Regions from separate parts of the Homo sapiens genome. Here regions 1, 2 and 4 are each linked to region 3. The links are contacts of gene promoters, found by promoter capture Hi-C in blood cells and fetal thymus (Javierre and others, 2016). All regions are on one chromosome and are shown on one strand. The core of a region is centred on a gene start or on the middle of the fragment in contact, and the rest is flanking DNA. Distances in the headings are between cores, read along the strand shown.

The links. Contacts are between HindIII fragments. The CHiCAGO score rates a contact against its expected background, and 5 or more counts as called.
Region 1: a fragment that was not itself captured here is called in contact with the fragment with the promoter of SLC24A3 in region 3 in 4 of 17 cell types (megakaryocytes, M1 macrophages, M0 macrophages and 1 more); the score reaches 6.9 in megakaryocytes.
Region 2: a contact is called between a fragment that was not itself captured here and the fragment with the promoter of SLC24A3 in region 3, in 1 of 17 cell types (megakaryocytes). The highest score is 6.7, in megakaryocytes.
Region 4: a fragment that was not itself captured here is called in contact with the fragment with the promoter of SLC24A3 in region 3 in 1 of 17 cell types (megakaryocytes); the score reaches 7.6 in megakaryocytes.

What each region holds. Positions count from the first base shown.
Region 1 is chr20:19,494,707-19,497,578 of GRCh38, reverse strand. The region is part of intron 2 of SLC24A3 (solute carrier family 24 member 3); the gene reads right to left. Among named protein-coding and RNA genes, the nearest start is that of SLC24A3-AS1, 210 kb to the right of the region's middle. RefSeq lists an enhancer at 1-932. The HindIII fragment of the contact is 3,454 bases long and covers 1-2,872 here.
Region 2 is chr20:19,512,861-19,515,807 of GRCh38, reverse strand. SLC24A3 (solute carrier family 24 member 3) reads right to left here. Exons shown (of 17, transcript NM_020689.4): 3 at 244-320. Among named protein-coding and RNA genes, the nearest start is that of SLC24A3-AS1, 230 kb to the right of the region's middle. The HindIII fragment of the contact is 3,344 bases long and covers 1-2,947 here.
Region 3 is chr20:19,210,989-19,213,896 of GRCh38, reverse strand. It overlaps SLC24A3 (solute carrier family 24 member 3), which reads right to left and starts at 1,255. Exons shown (of 17, transcript NM_020689.4): 1 at 913-1,255. The coding sequence starts at 1,054. LOC101929547 (a long non-coding RNA gene) reads left to right here and starts at 1,429. Exons shown (of 3, transcript XR_007067549.1): 1 at 1,429-2,268. RefSeq lists a silencer at 855-904. The HindIII fragment of the contact is 7,870 bases long and covers 1-2,908 here.
Region 4 is chr20:19,474,916-19,477,905 of GRCh38, reverse strand. All of the region lies in intron 2 of SLC24A3 (solute carrier family 24 member 3), which reads right to left. Among named protein-coding and RNA genes, the nearest start is that of SLC24A3-AS1, 190 kb to the right of the region's middle. The HindIII fragment of the contact is 6,432 bases long and covers 1-2,990 here.

The sequences.
Region 1 (2,872 bases), core at 94-2,593, 280 kb before region 3:
AAAATGTGCAAACCCTAACCTTGTTTTTTCCCAAAGAAATGACTGCACCAAGCATCTGCAAAACATGTGGAATTGCATTACATTTCACAGTACATTAGAGCCCAAAATGGGACCCGAGACTAAAATTGGCCAACTTCCTAATTAGCCTTTTACTAAGCCTTGGGCTGGAGAAACATGACCCCGGAGGACATAGCGTCTGGGATTCTGCTCCTCACTGCAGGCCTTGCGGTAAGTATCTTTCTCCAACTAGAGCTTCCTATTCAGATGAAACGGTCCTAGCCCCTTCTACCCAAAAAGGGACTGGTTTGGAGTTCTTGCCTTATTTGAGTGCCGGAAATGTCTACTTGTGTCTCAACATTTGTCATGGGCTAAGAATGAGCTGGGAGCTGACTCAGATTCTCCTGTTGCCTGAGATACATCCTGATGGAAAGCATGTTGGCACCTTTTGTAGGGACTCTTTCTATGCCCCAGGGCCCTTTTTTATCATGTGCACATTTTACGGCCATGGGGCAAATCGCTGGTACCCCATGGGGTAAATGGCTGGTACCCTAATGTCTACTTAGTGTGTTGGAACTCACAAGGAGAAGGCAGAAGGAGTTGATACTGGGGCTTGCAAAAGAGCTCAGCTTACAACAGAAAGAAGTTTAGACACTGGGGAAGAACAGGCCTGGTGCTGTTATTGCTCCCACAAACTCCTCTGAAAGTTGCTATAATGGAACTGAAGCTGGCAGTCAGGGTTCTGTCCTCCTCCCTGGAAAGCCCTTTACCATTTTGCTAACTCCAGCTCCCAGAGTGCTTCTACACTCAGGAGCCAGCACCCAGGGCTCGGTTGTGCTGAAGTTCCTCTCTGTGGGACTCTGCTTGACACCGTGCCCTTCTTGACCTCCTACCTTTTCCTGATCACACTATGTGCTCTCTGACCAGTTTTTCCAAGAAGCATGTCCAACATGGCTTTCACGGGAATGCTCATGCCAGGCTCAGGTTCTGGCAACCCAGGCTAACTCAGGAGCCACACAAATGCTGCTTCTTCCACAAACATTCTCTTGATCATTCCAAAGGAATCCTGCAATAAATTGCTACAGAGATTGGGAATCCAACCACAGGAGTGCAGGCTGGAGGGTGGGCGATGGACAGCAACTTGTTCCCCACATCCCTGAGCTATGTGGGGATATGGCTTCATATGCTCCTTTAATGTGACAGGGTCCTGAGTGAACCATGCACATCACTCCACAGCCCATCAGCTCCTGAGTGTCTGTTTTTGCTCAGTGGAAAAGCACATTTCCTGTTGAGACTCCAGCATGCCTATCGGGCCTTGCTGCATGGAGACCGGCTGGCTGGTGTTGAGGATGGACTGATGCTAGACTAGGCTTACTCTGCGAAATCATCAGTGAGAAGCGGGTGAGGCCAGAAGTGCAGAAGCCACAGAAACAACCACCCGTGGCCAAAGTTTCCATTCCCTGTGCCAGCCAAAGGGAGCCGGGGTGTCCCAGAGGCATGTCTGACTCGTCTGCACTGAGAGGCGGCAGGGAGAGTGTCTTCTCAGTGTTTTCACTGGCTTGAACACGTTCCAGACATTTCTATGTTCTTCTGTCACATTGTTTTTAAAAAAAATCTTGTTTTTGCCGGAAACTCAGATCCAAAGAGCCAAACAGAATCCACTGTGTGGCTATGTATTGGTGTGTTGGAAGCAGGCGCAGACTCAGGTGACAACAGGATGCCCAGCCTGAAATCTGGGGTGCTGTGGAGGATGTGGATATTAGAACCACATGGTATGGAAGAAAATGGCAAGTTGGGTTTCAGAATGGAAAAGATTGTACTTTTCTGTGACCATTTCCAAATAACAGAAAGGGAAGTTCTAGAGAAAAGGCAAGAAGTGAAGTGAATGGTCAGGGCAAGATTGGGCACAGCCGAGGGAGTCAAGTCTTGCAAATATCATCCACCCAAAAGGTATGGACCACACACATTTTGGCCAGCCTTGCCTTTCCTGAGGGAAGCTGTACTGCCATACAACGAATGAAATCAGCCTTTTTATGCTCTAATATTTTAACAAGCCTGGATGAATAGCTGAGCGGCTACATCCACAGCTGGCGATGCTCTACAGAGCGAGGCGTTCATGTCTGACCAGCTACATTCACTTATGTATCCACCCCTTCCCCTACTTTTACAAAACATGTCTAAAAGCTGAGAAGGAAAGGGCTGGAAAGGAAAGGGAGTTCTCATAGACAGATGAATGATGTCTCCTTGTAAAGGTGACAAGAACTTGTACATCCAGTCCAATGCAAAGTACAGGCAGGACAACCACATGACTATGTCTTGTAGATGCTGTTGGTGCCCGCTCAGAAACCCTTTCTGGGGCTGATGCATCCAGCTCCTGATAAAGGCTAAGAGTAAGTTCTCCAGAGTTGCACTTGGCCAGTGCATGCAACCTCACCCAGAAATGCCTAGAAGATTAAGTCCTCACTCCAAGAGGGGTGGTAGACACTAGGGTACAAAGGCCAGCTCCTGCCTCAAGGCAGGACAGCTCTGTGGTGCCATTCACACTCCATGGTCTCCTGGGATCCACCTGAGGCTGGTCTGCAGCCAACACCACTCCTTTGTTGCCTCCTTTCCTGCCTGATCCTGTTTCTCTCACTCCTTTTCTCTGGAGATCTCTCCAACAATGAATGACTTGCACAAGAATCTCTGTCTTGGGGACCCAACCCGAGACAACCTCTTCAGTTGGCTTTTGTTCTAAGTCTCCAAAGGAATGGGGCATCCCTTTGAATTGTAAAATGCATCAGAGGTGAGTCCTCTAGCCTTTTCGGGATGGCCAGAGCAAGATTTGCCTCTTAATCCCTCTAAGTCACTGCAGCCCAAAGCTGGATGAGTGGGT
Region 2 (2,947 bases), core at 81-2,580, 300 kb before region 3:
TAGAGTCCACACTCTGGGCACTAACATGAAGGGAAAGTGCATAACAGATGGCTCCACCTTCGAAAGCTGTGGTCTTTCATCTCCATTTGGTGATGGCCCCCTACAGAGCTCGAAGGACCCCCACCAGGCAGCGTGGGAACAGGAGGGCAGAGAGAATCTACTGGGGGCACCTCAGGTGCCACACCCCACACCCCTAGGCCTAGCCTATGGACCCTCCAGGCAGAGGCACAGAGGGGTACTTACACAGAGCACATGGAGGACCACCGCACCTTGTCTTCTATCCTCGTTTGTGAAGATGTCATTGGGGAATTCATGCAGGGCTAAAGAACAGAGAAAGAAAACCGTCTCAGCACAGGTGACCACATTTTCAGTGCTGTAGGTCTGGGAGTCTTGGTTTTAACATGGGGTCCATGAACTTGGATGAAAAAAAGATCCTGAATCTTTAAGTTCACAAAACTAACCAGAATTTAGTGTTTCCTTCAGATAAGAACGTGGGCAACCAACCACAGTAGCGTTAGCAGAACCTGGGGCTCGGCCCCACAGATATTTTCATAACACGTCATACCATCATACTTGTGCAGCTCTCACCCACTGCTTCAATCTTATGGTGGTTGTTAGGTCACCACCTGTGACTTAAAGTGTTAATGAGGAAGCACGTGAACTACTATATTGCAAATTTGTTTTCTAATACTTTGACAGCTTCATTTCCACACAGTCAGTTTCCATGTGTAACCTTATGTACTTTGCTGCATGCATGCATTGAAAACTGCTTTTCTGAGCGGGGGCTGTAGGCTTCACTGGATCACCAAAAGGGTCTGTGGCTCAGACAGATTTGAAGCCCCTGCTCTAAGTGGGTCTTCATTTTGCTCCTTTTCCACTTTGCCTGACCTGGCTTAGGGTGTGGGCCTCGTGTGCTATTAGAACAACCCCCTCCCTGCTCCCTCCCTCTGCTCCCCTTTCTAAGTTGACCTCCATTTGTGGCTGGACCAGAATGCCAACCACAGGGATGTTCATGCCTTCTCAATGTTCCAAAACCTTTCTGCCTTGAGATGAAAGCTGGAGTCTGTGAACTGACGGTCCCAAGAAGGTCCTCCACCACTAACCAGGCCTCCTGTCCCTTCCTCTCATAAAATCCAATCAACCTTCTGGGCCAGGTTCTCACATCTCCTCTCCTTTATGAAGCCTCCTGTGGTCCCTCCGATAGGAATCCACGGCTCCTTTGCTGGAGGATGTGCCCACCAGGCGCGGCAGGAAGCAGCACACACCACCCCCACCCACAGCCCCACATGGGCAGACATCACCAGCTGCTGAAAGAAGTCTTTCCCTCTGAGCTTGATGATGTCTCCAAGTCTTTCTCTAGCAAGTTCTTAGAGAAACCACCACCATTTGATGGGGAGGATATGCTAGATGATACCTGCTTGCCACCTGTCTTATTTTGGATTCCTCTAAAAGCAGACCCTCCGACAAGGATGTGGAGCTATGTGGTTTACTTGGGAGATGACTCCAGGATGCACTGTGCATGAGGGAGGCAGTGCAGCCAGGAAGGGGAGAAGAGACAAAGACAGTGCTGCTAAGGAGTGAGTGGATGACCTCTGAGACATCCAGGCCCAGTTCTGCTGGGGACCCCTGGCTTGCCCGGAGGATTTGTGCAAGACACAAGCCATCGGTCACTGCTTGAAAAGGCTCTGCTCTCTGCATCCAAGGCAGCATTGGCTTAAGGCATTGTGCAGGTATTGGGTTGGAGCCACACGAAGTGTTTGGGCCAAAGGGTACGTCTAGTACATAAAGCAAGGCTCACCTTCCAAAGTACAGCAAGTGGGGGACAGTTAAAAATACTACATTATATACTTGAAACTTGCGAAGAGGATGGATCTAAATCTTCTCACTACACACACACACAAACACACACACATAAATGATAACTATGTAGAGGTAATGGATACGTTAATGAACTGAAATGTGGTTAACATTTCACAATGTATCTGTATATCAAAAGATCAAGTTGTATACCTTAAGCATATACAATTTTTATACGTCAATAATATCTCAAAAAGGCTTTTTTTTTTTTTCTAAAAAAAAAGCAAGACCCACCTGTGTGTCTAGCCAATCACAATCTCTAGTTTTGTATGGTCCTTTAAACATAAAAAAGGAGACAAGAAAAGACAGGAACATCATGATTATGGGAGGATTTTTCTAAGCTGAAGCTGCTCTAAACAGGCTGCACAGAGCCCCTCTGAACAATGAATAAACTGGGAGAAGCCTGGAGGAGTTTCCCTTGGGGACCAAAATGAAGCCACGATCTGGAAATTAATGTGAGGGGCAGAGGGATGACAACAGTGAGCATTTATTGAGCACCTGCTCCTGGCAAGCACTGTACCTTGCACTTTGCCCCTGTGATCCCATCTTATCCTCACAAACAGATTATTATTCCAGTTCTGTAGATGAGGAACCCAAGGGGAAGACAGATGGGGCAACATGCTTGGGCTCCATGGCTGGAAAGTGGGAGAAGGGCTGCACACCCAGCAAACCCAGGGCTGGGGACGCCCCTCACACATGCCACCCCCCTACTGCATGGATCTGCAATTCCATTCTGCCCTCTGACTTCTTCCTTCTGTGACCTCCTCCAAAAGAGGATTTGACCTGATTTACATTCAGCTGCCACTCTCCTGGAGGAGAAGCAATAGGCTTTTTTTTTTCTTTGCATTTTTCAGTGTAGCTGCCACAGGGTGTTTTGGCACTGGCCAGTCCTAGGGTTGAAAGGTCACCTCTCCTATTGTTCTCCTAGTCTCAGAGCTGGAAGCTAGAGATGGGATGCTGAGTTAATGTATCAATCACAACAGCCATCACCCATGGGAAACAAGCCAGTCATATGCCCTGGGGCAGTGCCAAGCAAAGGAATCGTGTGGAAACCTCTTATTTGAGGTCCCCAATCATCAACGAGGGGTAC
Region 3 (2,908 bases), core at 6-2,505:
GTGCCACTTCCACGGCCGGGATATAAAACCATTTTACAACAGTTATTCTCCCATGTTTTTCCTTCATTTTATAGACAGCTGAATCCCAGGATCGAAGCTGTTTCAGCAGACAACTGTTGGGAGCACACAAGATCTATTTCAGCTCAAGAAAGGCCAAGGACAAAGACAAGACAAAAGTTGTGGGTTAAAGGGCAGACTTTGCGCAGAGCACCGGTAGAGGAGCGGACAGTGTGATGCGTGGTCCACTGCAAACCATTTCTTCCACAGCAGCAGCTCTGCAAAAGGGACCTCTGAGGAAGAATTCCCTGTCTTCCCAGTGAGTGGTCATTTTAGGAGAACAAGTCCCCTACTAGCCCATAGCTGGAGGGCCAACACTTTTTCTCTCCCTGAAGTTCCCGGCACCTGTTCTGAAAGGGGGTTGAAGAGCTCTCTACTCGGGCCATCCCGCCTGCTCTCTGGATGGAGAACATACGGACAACTGTGTGTTAAGCAGTCCCCTTGAATCCTTCAGCAAGCCAAGGAGTATACAGGTGGTCACCTGCACAGGTGCCGGGTCTACCACCACAACTTTATCCCTGGCCTTGGGGGCTGATGGAGAGTAAGACTCCCCACCACCGCCACCAGCAGTACCTCCAGCTCGCGAGTAAGCAGCGCACAGGCGGGCACAGGTAAATGTTCCCAGGGCGGCCAGACGCCTAAGCCTGCTGGCTGCTGGCGCTCAGGGTCCCCACCTCCATGCCTCTGCGTGGGGCAGGGGGAGTCCTCGTGCCTGGCATCCCACTCCCCCCGCCAACCCAGCCCGCTTATCCTGGGGCTCCGGCCGGGCCGCCCGAAGGAGCCCCGCGCCCAGCCCCGGGAGCCCCGAGCCGCCGGAGCCGCAGCGCCCACTCGGGGCAGGCAGCGTGCACTCACCCTTCTGCTCTCGCAGGCTCGACAGCGACCAGAGCAGCAGCGCCACCGAGGCCAGGAAGCAGAGCTGGCTCAGCAGAAGGTCCCTCCGGCGGCGGCGGCGGCGGCGGCGACGCGCGCGGTCCTCGTCGCCGGACGGCCGCATCCTCGGGCGGCCGGGCGGCGGCCTCGGCGGGCGGCGGCCGCTCCTGTCGCGGGCGGCCGCGGCGGGGACAGCGGCAGGAGGCAGCCCTGCGCGCAGCAGCCGCGCGTCCTCGCTGCGCTCCCACCCGGCCGCCGCCTCCGCCTCCTCTTCCTCCTCCTCGCCGCTGCCCGTCTCCTCGTCGTCGCCCTCCTCGTCGCTATCGCCCAGTCCCTCCTCCCCTCCCTCCTCCTCCTCCTCGCCGCTCGCCCGCGCCGCCGCCTCCCGGCGCTCGGGGTCCCGCTCCTCCTCGCGCGCCATGGCTCCCACGCTCCGCGCCCGCGCTCGGCCTGGGGCGGCGGCGCGGCGGGGGCGGCGGGGGCGGCCGGGAGGCGGGGGCGGAGGGGGCAGAGGAGGAGGAGCGGGGAAGGACCGACGGTAGGAGGGCCCGCCGCTGGCCAACTCCGCCGGTTGGCAAAGCCACCCCGGACTGGCTCTGGCCTCGCCGGCTGCAGGAGCGCCTCGCGGGGCCGCCCGCCTATTCCATGGTCGGCGCGATGGGGGCCGGGGCCGGGCCGGAGCGAACAGGGAGCACCGAGCGAGCTGGGAGCATGAGCTAGCGCAGCTCCCGGCAGCCTGCAGCGGCGAGGCTGGTCGGGCCAGGGTTGGCGGGGGGCAGTGCCTGGGACACAGCCCGGCGCTGGCCGGCATGGCGGGGAGGGGGCGCGCTGGGAGGAGACTGGGCTGGGGAGGGATCCCTGTGTGCAGTCCTTCAACCCTTCTGTGCCAGGGGAAGAGGGACGGCGCAGGGGGCCCCCTCTCGGGAAGCACACACGCTGCCTCCCAGAGGCCGATCTTCACCAAGAAGGATTCGCTGGAAACTTTCGGAAAACCGAGGGGCTCTTCAGCCTCCTCTCTACGTGCTACCTGGAGTCGGGGCGCCGCGAGTGCGCTTGGCTGCCCGCGCCCAGCCTCTGGCCTCGCCTCTTCTCGCGGGCCTCCCGGGTTTCCCTCTGCCCCCTTGCGGGGATCCCCCTGTGCGCCCGACTCGGGATCTGGAACAGGCCTCCCCAGAGGCTGTTAGTTCCATAAGGGTGTCCGGCTCCCCCCTCTGTCTTGGGCTCACACTTCGCTTTCTGTTCGTGCTGGACCAAGTCCAATACTGTGGCTGATCGAAGTGGGGACAGCTGGCACGGTCCCTGGAGAGGCGGCCTGAAGAGGCTTCTGGCCTTGTGCAGGTAACACCAGCCTGCCCTACCTCCAACGTTAGAATCTTAGTCCTCCCATTTCCCCCATTCTAGGTCTCCTGCCCCTCCTTGCTGAAGGTGTGGGCTGCCCTAGAGATGGCTGGACTCACGACCTGCCGCAGGTGCCCATTTGGAGGGGATCCCTGGCCATCCCAGACACAGCCCACTCTCCCTCATTGGGCTTCCCTGGACTCTTCCCAGATGCTAGCCTGGGGCTGCTGGCTGGGCTGAGGAGGAGATGCCATTGTTGGGGCGGAGGGTGGGGGGGCGCTGAAAACAAAAGACCTTGTCCAGAAAGGGATCACCTGAAACCAGGTGTCTGTCTAGGTGACTGTCTCCATGGAATCCATTCAGATCAGGGAATCTAGCTTCATACCCTAAGGAGGTGGGAAGGAAGCAGAGAACCTCTGTATAAGGCTCCCCTGTCTAGGTCTGTTCAAATGTGTCCCCACCTGTGACTGACCTACCCCCCCCGACCTCCTCCCAGACAATCCCTGACAGCGCCCGGGGACAGCAAGGTCACAGCAAAGGGCAAAGGAAGTGGTTATAGGTGGCCTCCTTTCCAGAGAAAGGCCATCTCACCCAGGGAGACCAGAGACTTTTCCTTTGTGGGTATATCATTTATGACTGC
Region 4 (2,990 bases), core at 221-2,720, 260 kb before region 3:
TTTCATTCACTTCTAATACCTGCAAAACCCAATAGTAGCCATTTTGTTCCTTTTTGGATCAAGTCTTAATGGTTTTGTATCACACAGGGTAGAGTCAGTAGGTACAGTGTATACTATATTCACGTGTAAGACTGGCAAATGGGAGAAATTGTCAGAGGAGCAAGACCATAATCAAGCCATTTGCCTTAATTGGGATGTCATCGACACTTTAGGTACATGGCACATGGCACCCTCATGCCAGGATAGCACTGCCAGGAGGAGCCAGAGTTGAACCAAAAGCCAAAAACTCTCTGCCTATCCAAGGACTGTGGTGTCTGTGATGCTGAACTCTGGATGAAGCACTGATCTCTCTCTGTTGAGTTCCTTCCACACACTTACACTGTGGAAGAGAAATTTTGTAGCTCAAAAATACTTCTGGGTAATGACTTTATCTGCTATTAAAATCTCACCTTTTTTGGACTTAGCTTGCCTCCAAATAAATTGGCGATCTACTCCCTGCAGGTTCTACCAGTTGCAAACACCTGCCTCTTTCTCCTGGATTTGTTATTCCTGTAAACGTTAGTGGCATCCACACAAGCTCAGAACAGAGGATCTGGAATCTTTTGGCCTCCTCAGGCTTGACCCAGCCCAGGGTCCAGCCAGTTTCCAAATTTGGAGGCCCATCTCCTGCTTGCTTCAGCAGTGCCTCCACTCTTCCTCACCTCGTTGCCATCTGGCAGGTCCTAGGAGTTCCACCTGCTGGATCCATTATAAAGAAGGAGTACTTCCTTTCCCAGTCTCTTCTGCTTGCGTCTGCCTGGTTAATAGCCCTGTGTCAGCTCAGCTGTCAGCAGAGTGAGGACCACAGTCCTTACTATGGCTAGGCACCAGTCCTCGTCTTGCATTTATCCCACCCCAGCTCAGCTGACACCCGTAGGGTTTACCCACAGCAAGAAAAACGAGCCCTTACCTTCCTTGCATTATTATTTGTTTCTAAGTCTCGAAAATGCCCTTATAGTGCCCAGAAGAGAGAGGAGGGCAAAAGAATCAGAGGGAGAGAAGATTAATGAGCAAGCAGGCATTGCTGTGCTATCGTTCCTCCTCTGGTGGATGCCTCTGGAATTTTTTGTGCTTTGGGAGAGGAGCCCTGCCTGGGTTCCCATAATTATGGACACTGACATCCTTGCTACGGAAGGCCCCATACTTTCAACTGGATTTCCCTCCTTTCTGAAGCAACCATCTTCAAGCATTCACCTAACTCTCTCCGACAATATGTTGTATAGTTTTACATATTTTGAATGCTAGTCCTTTATCAGACATGTACTTTGCCAAGATTTTTCTCCTAGTCTGTGGCTTGTCTTTTTATTCTCTTCATGGTGTCTTACACAGAGCAGAGGTTTTGAATTTCAATGAAAGCCAGCTTAGCAAATTTTCCTTTCATGGATCATGTTTTTGGTATTGATCTAAAAGATCATCACCAAACCTAAAGTCACCTAATTTTCTCCTATGTTACCTTCCAGGAATTTTATGGTTTTGCATTTTACATTGAGGCCTACATTTAATATTGCACAGCAGGAAGAAAAGTCATTCGCTAACCAGTAAGAACATCAGGGATGGCCTTACTTCTGTTTTTCATCAAGTCCAGGATTTACACCTGAGGCAAGCTCGGACATATTATTTTTAACTACCAACATCTCAGATTAATATCAATTGCTCACCAGAATGAATCTCTGAAGGCATTTATATAACCAGCTGCAACACCAGCAAGGAAGACATTGGGCAGGCAGAGGACTCTAGCTCTCCGGCCTGGGAGTGGATCGCGTGGGTCTGACAGAAGAATGGGAGATCAAGGAGGATGTTACATCCACAGTGAGTTTTCCCAAGTCATTTGCCTATTTTCCCACATGCTTTGCTAAACTGTCCTTCTGTCTGATTTGGCCAAGGCTATTCCCATTGTTATAGATTAGGCTCAAGTCCTAATGTCAGTTCTGGGCTATCTCCTTCACACTACTCATTGGTTTGGTTTGATGCTGTAGTTTTAATAAAACCCAAAACACATTTCCAAGTATAGAGTAGGAAGAAAATGTTTCTTTGTTGCTCTCCATCAGAATATTTTCAGGTCTTTAGGTAAATCTAAAAATAAATTTTTGGAATTTTTAAATTAAACTGAAAAAATGATTTAAAAATAAGTTTCCATCCTTCACCCAAGAACACATACTAATTAAAATAGTTTTCTTTATATAGGTTGTGCAAGATTAAAGTCAATTCCTATTTATTTTATTATTTCTTTTTTTGTCATTATAATGCAAATAAAAGATTGAGTGTATCTTCTAACTGGTCATGTCCAGTAACTGGAAGAACTATTAGTTTCTGCATATTTATCTTATGTTCAATCATTAACACTTTCTTATTAATTTTAAGAGATTATCACTAGATTCTCATGATTTTCTAGGTCTATCATATTATCTGCAAATAATAGCAGTTATCTTTGTATTTACAATAGCCATCCATTGGGCCCTTTAAAACGGTAAATGGAAATGGGAATGGTGGCCATTCTCTGCCTTGGATGTGATTTTTTTTTTTTTCTTGAGACAGAGTCTCACTCTGTTGCCCAGGCTGGAGTGTAGTGGCGCGATCTCAGCTCACTGCAAGCTCCACCTCCCTGGTTCATGCCATTCTCCTGCCTCAGCCTCCCGAGTAGCTGTGACTACAGGCAACCGCCACCACGCCCGGCTAATTTTTTTGTATTTTTAGTAAAGATGGGGTTTCACCATGTTAGCCAGGATGGTTTCGATCTCCTGACCTTGTGATCCTCCCACCTCGGCCTCCGAAAGTGCTGGGATTACAGGCGTGAGCCACCGCGCCCAGCCTGGATGTGATTTTTATGGGGCGTGTGTATTTCCTGGTCACCTCTATTGTGAACTGTTAGTGTCAGAGAGCCTTTTTCATATCAGAAGATACCCTTTCCTTCCACATCAAACAGTTTTTCAAAAGTTGAATTCACAGAAGCA